Regions from separate parts of the Homo sapiens genome. Here region 2 is linked to region 1. Evidence: promoter capture Hi-C in 16 types of primary human blood cells and fetal thymus (Javierre and others, 2016). All regions are on one chromosome and are shown on one strand. Each heading gives the region's core, a stretch centred on a gene start or on the middle of the fragment in contact. The rest is flanking DNA. Distances are from core to core; before and after follow the strand shown.

Region 1 (3,888 bases), core at 115-2,614:
GGTTTATATGGCAGGTTGTTTTCATCATTACAACCCTTGGAATGGGGGAAACAATTGCAATCACGTAATTTTAAAACGGAATTATTTTCTACTTCAGGTGACAAGATATTACAAGAATATTTTGGAGTATTCTTGTACAGTTCATCTTGGAATTCAACCTTAATATTTTGTGTAGCCTCATTTTCGGTTATTTTGAGAGGTGGGTTTTCTAAGCTTTTAAGTTTTTTATTTCGAATTCTTCTTTTAATACCTTCTATTATACTTTCCTTACCCAAAGACTGCAAGCATTCCACTGTTTGGAAAGATTCCGAACTGGTTAATGATTCCTTTCTTACCAAGTCAAGCCCTGGCTGTGGATCATCACTTGAGGCTTCAGTAACTTTTCTTTTTTCCTTGGCTGATCAAAACAACAAAATATATCAGAAAAGATTTTATATTGAGGAGGAAAATGCAATTATCATTGAAATTAAAAATTGTGAGGCTATCATTTTTATTTCCCTGAACAGCTGTATGTAAATACACATTTGTTTTTAAATGAAAGCCTTAATTTCTGTTAAGGAATTACATATAAACCTGTATAAATTCTAAGGCAACTGAATAACCCTTATAACATCGTCATCTCATACTAGCCAAAATGGACCACAAGTAGGAATTCCTCCTATCATAATTCTGACCAAGGATTCCTAACAGGGAACACCCCTTTTAAGGAAATCCATTTTTCCCATCTCCTGGTCAACTATGTGCATCAGAAATAACCATGCAGGTTCAAGTTAAAGACTAGTGGTAAAACAAAGATGGAGCACGCTGAGGTACAAGGGCTAAAGGTAAGTGATCGTGGATGCTTTCTTACTGTGTCTTTCCGTTTGCAAGGGGAGTTCAGCCTCCTTTGCTGCTTCTAGGCCTCGCGGGTCTGACGAGTCTGACGGGCTCACCGGGCCCCTGCGCCCCTCCACCTGACGCCTTGCGGCCTTTCCAGCCCCTGATGCTGCAACCGACTTATCACTTTCCACCTCGCCTCTCCCAGGGGTGGCCCGGGCCACCATTCTCCTCTTTTGCTTATTTTCCCGGCACCCCCCGGCCTCAGGGCCACAGCCTCCCGCCGCGCCTGGCCCTGGCGCCTGCCGCTTCTGCAGGTTTCGCACATTGCCTTCAGGCCCTGAGGCCGTCGTGGGGCCCAGGGGTGGAGGTCGTCGCATGTGCCCCGGGGCCGGCCCGCTGGGGCCCCTCTGCACCAGCTCGCAGGAACCCACCGCGGTGCAAACGCTGCTCCCGCCTGGAGGTACCTACTGCCCTCTGACCCACCCCACACCGCCAGTCACCACAGCCCGGGGCCGGAAGCGGAAGTGGGGCGCGTAAGCGGAAGTGGGGCCTCGTGTCTGGGGCCCCGACTGGTGCTTCGGGATCCAACGGGCAGGAGAGCCGCGAGTTCCGTGCCAGCGTCTTTTTGGAGGGCCTCTCGCGGAGCTCCGAGGGAGGCAGTGGCCGCGCCCGATTGCATTGCGAGGGACTGTAGTGGGGCTCATCACATAACAGGCCTCCGTTGGCCCTTCCACTAGGCTGAGCTTCCTGGAACCGTTCAGGGCTCATTCTCCCAGCTGCTGCTCTTCGCGCCTTGGCTGCTCGCAAAGGCCACTGTCAGTGGCTTGTAACTCCACACCAAGTCTCCTAGAAGCCCCTGTCTAACTGTCTTCCTGATATATTCACCCGGATATTCCATATTCCACAGGCACCTCACACTCAGATGGGCAAACCAGCTCATCGCTCCTCACAAGCTTGCTCCTTTCACATAGGTGGATGCGCCACCATGCGCCTAATTGTTTAAGCCAGAAACCTAGAAACCATCAGAGACAACCTTCTTTCTACTTCATCCCTCACATCCACTTTCACTAGATCTACTTGACTGTATTTTGTTTGTCAGCCACTCTCCCGTTTGCCATTACCGTGGCTCTGGCCCTCAGACTTTCTTGACTGACCTACTGCATCAAGCCTCTGAATCCATCCTTGAGCTATTCCAGTCAAACGTCCACCTCCTTGCCAGGCCATGCCTCTCCGATGACAGGAGATCCTAGCACTTCTCAGTTTGACCCTTCATGAACTTCTTTTGCTCAAAGACTAAAACTAACAGAAATCCAAACTCTGGTGTGGTATCTGTGACCCTATCTGATGTGGCCTCTGAAAAATTAACTAGTTTTCTCTTACTGCCACTGTAGGGTAAAAGTTGTGCTTTGATGGAAAACTACATAGAAGTCACCCTTCTGAATTATCTGATTCTGATTCTATGGGAGTTATTTTACAACTCTGTAAATTATAGATAAGCGATAGCAACACAAAATAACGGTCTATAGAAATCCAAATTCTGTCCAATAGAAGTTTAATTGACTTCCCATTTTCACTGTGGAAGAAGCTAGTTTTGCCTCCATTTCCACATTCACTTCATTCCTGGTCTAGAATGTTTGTTGTTTGGACTTACCCTTTGAACCAATGTTTATAAAATCTGCCTGATGGGAGAATATAATCTTTAATACATGTTCATCCATGACAGCCATTATTTTCTCTTTTTTGAAAATTATCTCTTATCACCACACATAGCCTGCCCATAAGCCACGTTGGACTACTACCTGAAGTTCCCCAGATTTCATATACTTTTGTTATGCTTGTGCTTCTGTACCTGACAGTCCTGGAAAGTCTTCCTTTGCTTGTCTGCCTGGTAAACTACATATTTCCCCTTCAAGATTCATGCAAGGATCACCCATCAAGGAAGCCTTCCTGCAACTGTTCTTGCACTTTGAGGGGTAAAGTGTTCCTTCCTGTCTGCGAACACACAGTTCAACTATTTACTTGTGTGTCTCCCTTAGTAGCTTCCTTCCAACCAAGTGCAGATACCTTCCATTAATCTTTGCTTTCTGTGTGTTTAAAGAAGGACCTGGTGAATTTGAATACAATGCATTAAAGAATGGTAGGTATGATGCATAGAGTGTGACTAATATGGCAGTTTGGATGAGAAGCTCAGGTCAAGTATTCTGAGGAGCTTTTATAAAATAGAACTTAAGTAAAAGAGGTGTAAAAGATACAGAAATTATCCTTGTTTCTTTCTCTTTGTAAGTACCCTTAGTAAAAGGAAAATCAGTTTAAGACTAGCAGAATTTATAAAAAGTTATCATAAGCACTTCAGGCTCATTCCACATTCACTTTATGCCTCACTTTATATATCACTTTCCTCATCTGTAAAATGAAATAGTGTGTCCTCAGAGTTCTCATGAGAATTAGATGTGCCAATATTTGTAAAGCAGTTAGAATAATGCCTAGTTGATTATAAACATTAAATAGATTTGTTAAGTAAAAACTTCAACACACACACACACACACACACACACACACACACACACACACACTCTCTCTCTCTGAGTCAGAGTCTCACTCTGTCACCCAGGCAGGAGTGCAGTGGTGTGAACACAGCTCACTGCAGCCTTGATCTCCTGGGCCCAAGTGATGCTCCCACCGTAGCCTCAGGAGTAGCTGGGACTACAGGTGTGCATCACCACACCCAGCTCATTTTTTTTTTAATAGAGATAGAGTCTCCCTATGTTGCCCAAGCAGGCCTTGAACTCCTGGCCTACAGTGATTCTCCCACCTCAGCCTTCCAAAGTGCAGGGATTATAGGTGTGAGCCACCAGACCTGGCCTCAATATATATTAAAAGGTAGACTCTATAGAATTCTGACATTTACTACCTTCAAAATAAACATTGCTACTAGGATGTTAGTAAAATAAAGATAAAAATTCAAGAGTCCGGCCTCTGGTCTGAACCTGGAGCCCACTGGCAGGCACCCACTGCCTTCGGCCCACTTTAAGGACAGATGGTGTTAAAGTTGGTTATAGGCCCAGGAAT
Region 2 (4,219 bases), core at 202-2,701, 690 kb after region 1:
ATCAAAAGTAAATAAATAGAAATTTTAAACTAAAGTAAAGACAGTCTTAGATTTCTTATGAAGAAAACTGTGGAAAAATAATCAGACTACACAAAGATTTCTAAATTGTAAGATGGCAGAAGTTCTCCATGGGACAAAATGTATTCATATTAAGTTTGGATTCAGTCATCTTTTGTTTTGCTTCTTTTAAAATTAATGTTTCTAATAGTACTTGTGTTTCTTGGAATTAATGGGTAAATTATTAAGTGGTGATCACCATATACTTTGTATTAAAGAAAAAAAGAGCAATGGTCACAACATTTCTCCATCCATCCTTGGCAGTATGCACCAAAGTCTCCTTCAGGGAATGCTGGACCAGTTTGTCTAGTAGGTCTCAGTGGGGCCTAGCATCTATATTTTTCTAAAGTTCTACATTTGATTTGCTAAATGATGCTAGAAAAGGATCACCATTTATCACTGGTGCCTTGATTATAAAGCTGGTTATAGCTGAGTCAGATGTGGTGTGTGATGTCAAAGTAGAAGGATGGTTTCACAACATAAGTTCTGTTTGAAATCTTACCTGTTTTTTAATGTGAAACATTTTTCCCTGGCAGCCCTACTTTAGATTCCCCTTAGATGTGAGTAGAGTAACTTTAACAGTATTCCCAATTCAGGTCCAGGGCTGCCTCCAATTAGGAAGATAGAACATACTGCTTTGGGATATTCATGCCAAAAGTATCTAAAATACTGCCTAACAGTATGGCTTTTTTTTCAGCTAAAAAAATCATACCATGACAGAGAAAAAAATTTAAAATGTACTTGGAATGTTTAGAACTAGGGTAAGACATTTTCCTTGATTTTTAGATAACATGAAAAAGGATGAGGAAATATGGAAGCAGTCATTGCAATTTTTAATTTCCATTCTTTTTTCTTTTAGTTGGCTTTTGAAACGATGAGTGTTATATCTGTGGTCACTAACTGTGCGCTGATTGGAATGTCACCACAAGTGAATGCAGTCTTTCCAGAATCAAAAGCAGACCTCATTTTGATTGTAGTAGCAGTGGAGGTAAGTAAAGATTTAAACTTATTTTAAGCAGTATCCATATTACGTTTCTCTATTCCAAAGCAGTGCTGTCTCGGGCTGTCCATGACTGACAATTGAGCAATATGGATTTACTGGTAAGAAAGCAAAAACAGTTCAAGTAATAGAAAACATGAGGATTCAGGCTGTGTATTCATGGTTATTGCCCAAGTATGAAAAACTGTCACCACAATGCAAACAGGAAGTGACTTTTCCACTATTATGCTGGCCTGCCCAGTGCTAAGTAGGTAAATCCTATTTGAGGATCAGGTGCCATGGCTCACGTCTGTAATCCCAGCACCCAAGCCAAGGCAGAAGGATGACATAAGGCCAGGAGTTCAAGACCTGGGTAACATAAGACCCTGTCTCCACAAAAAATTTAAAAATTACCTGATGTAATTTGGTACCTGATGGTAATTTGGTACCTGATGTAATTTGGTACTGTAATTTGGTTCATTCTTGTAGTCCTAGCTATTTGGGAGGCTGAGGCAGGAGGATTGACTGAGCCCTAGAGTTCAAGGTTACAGTGAGCTATGATGGCACCATTGCACTCCAGCCTGGGCAACAGAGCGAGACACTGTCCCTTAAAAAAAAAATCCTATTCAAAATCAAATTCCATACATTTAATATGTATTTTTAGTCTATTTTAGAGAAAAGACAGTTCTACTTTCTTAAGCAAATCCTAAAAACACTTTTTGATAATGACTTAAGTCTCATTTGCTACAGGTGTGAAATTCATTGTGAAACACTCTCAAACTTCAAAATGTAATTTGTAGGACGATAGATAATTTCACATGCAAAGCCCAAGCAGGCTGTCTGTGCTCTTTTTACGTTTTTCTTTTATCATGTTTCAGAATATGGATCCCTGTAACATCTTGGAAATTAAGCACTAACCAAATGTAAATGGAATAATTTGTAGGAATTTTTTTTGTTGCTTGTAATTATAGTTGTCAAGAATATTGTAACCACCTTTCATTTTTAGATATTTTAAAAACAAAACAGTTATGGAACTCTATAAAAGCAGAACTTAGGAGGATCCTGAATGGTGTTTCATATACTTAAGGCCTTAGGACTCAGGGCTGACCAGAGGAAAGGAAATCATGAACTTGCACATTTCCAGTGTTGGCTAAAGAAATATATTCTGCTTTGCTCTTTTTGGCTCTTATTGTATTTGGTAGGAATCTGTGTTCATGATAGATGCTATATGTGGAATATGCATTTTGGAGAATGATTTTAGACAGCAGTGAGTGGGAGGGAAAAGAAAATGGCCCTGACAGATACAAGTAGTCTATTTTGAATTTTGTAAGTTGAATAGAATTTTGGAGAGCTATTTGCAAGGCTGATTTATGACCTGTGGAAGTGAGAAAACAAGACAGAGTTACCTTTGACAGGGAGAGACCAGCTGGCTAGGCTTGTAGTGTGCTTTCTTGATTTAGAATATGGCACTTCACTTCACAGATCTAAAAATTTGTCTTTGCCAGTATACTCAGAGTTAATTAAAGGCTTTTGGGACTGACTGAAACTTAAAACTCATGAAACTTACAAGGGATTGACCAGAAAGCCAGGTGGTTAATTTACAATAAAAAGATACTTTACCAATACCGTAACAGTGGATGTTAAAGTGAAGGTGGATTGGTTATTAGAAGATTTCTTGGTAAATTTAGAACAAGAGCAGGAGTGGTGTAATATCCTGAAATACGCAGAAAACCTGAAAACCATCCCTACCTCCACACAGAGCAGAGCTCTCTCATGAGCCAGCTCTTGGTGTCCATCGCTAGCTTCTGAGCAATGCTGGATGAGCTCATTACAGTCTACATCTTGATTTTTGCCCTCACTTTCTCTAGATTCCTGGCTGGCTCAATATATTACCATTGATTAGCCTACTGCTTTCTTTTGTATTTAGTGATACCTTAATCACATATTGAGGGCCTGGTTCTTCTTACTTAATTCGGGAGACTTACTGGCCTATAAATACTGTTCTGCAGGTGGCTAGTCTCGTGTTAAACAGGATGGTTTTGCTAGTCTAATCCTCACTCGATTCACTTAATCTGCACATTCTAGGGATACTTGGCTGTTACCCTCTAGGTTCTAACCATTATGCCTCCTCTTATTTATTTATTTATTGTCTCTTCACATTGTATAAAAACAGCTGTTTTAATTGTCATTGTCTAAACTGGCAAAGTAAGAAGCATCAAGGAAGGCTAGGAAGAAGCCAGGAAGCATCAAAGAAGGCTCCCTGCAGGTTTCAGGGGGATCATAGCCCTGCCAACATCTTGATTTTGGACTTCTAGCCTCCAGACTATGAGAAAATACAGTCCTGCTGTTTTAAGCCATCTATAATAGTTTGTGATAACTTTGTTCTGGCAACCCTGAGAAACAAATGCATTTTCCTTTCTGTTGTAATAACTTTTGTTAGCCAATTTTTAAAGGGTCAGTCTGCTAGCAACAAATTCTCTTAATTTTTTCTTCATCTGAAAACTTTTTTTCTCTTTCATTCTTAAGTATAGTTTTGCTGGACATAGAATTCATGGATGATAGTCTTTTTCTTTCAGCATATGAAAAACATTTTGGTATTTCCTTCTAGTCTCAATGGTCTCAGAAGAGAAATATATCATTCCAATTGGTGTTCGCCTGTAGTTAATGGATCCTTTTTTCTCTGGCTGCTTTTAAGATTTTTTTCCCTGTATCTTTAATTTTTGAAAGTTTAATCATAATGGGCCTTAGTGTAGCTTTTTGGGAGTTTATTCCATTTGGGGCATGCTCAGCTTCTTAGATCTGTGGGTTTGTGTCTTTAACCAAATTAAGGAACTTTATAGCCGTTATTTCTTCAAGTACTCTTTCAGCCCCACTCTCTCTCTTCTCCTGGGATTTTCATATGAATCTTGGGTCTTTTGTATTTTCCCACAGGTCCCTAAGGCCCTGTTCAATTTTTGTCAGCCTGTTTTCTGTTATTCACATTAGGTGAATTCTGTTGATGTATTTTCAAGTTCACTGTTTCAACATCTTCTATATGTCCACACTACTATTGAGCCCATATACTGAGGTGTGTTTTTTTTTTTAATTTCTATTACTGCATTTTTCAGTTCTATAATTTTCATTTGGTTGTTTTTATAACTTGTATTTCTTTTGCATGTGGATGTCCAGTTTTCCCAGCACCAT

The links. The method cuts DNA at HindIII sites, captures the fragments that hold promoters and counts their contacts. A CHiCAGO score of 5 or more calls a contact.
Region 2: a fragment that was not itself captured here is called in contact with the fragment with the promoter of TOPAZ1 in region 1 in 3 of 17 cell types (activated CD4 T cells, total CD4 T cells and total CD8 T cells); the score reaches 7.4 in activated CD4 T cells.

Annotation. Positions count from the first base shown.
Region 1 is chr3:44,239,362-44,243,249 of GRCh38, reverse strand. TOPAZ1 (testis and ovary specific TOPAZ 1) reads right to left here and starts at 1,364. Exons shown (of 20, transcript NM_001145030.2): 1 at 851-1,364; 2 at 1-397. The coding sequence starts at 1,196. The HindIII fragment of the contact is 1,559 bases long and covers 216-1,774 here.
Region 2 is chr3:43,546,546-43,550,764 of GRCh38, reverse strand. ANO10 (anoctamin 10) reads left to right here. Exons shown (of 13, transcript NM_018075.5): 11 at 917-1,045. Among named protein-coding and RNA genes, the nearest start is that of ANO10, 73 kb to the left of the region's middle. The HindIII fragment of the contact is 9,659 bases long and covers 1-4,219 here.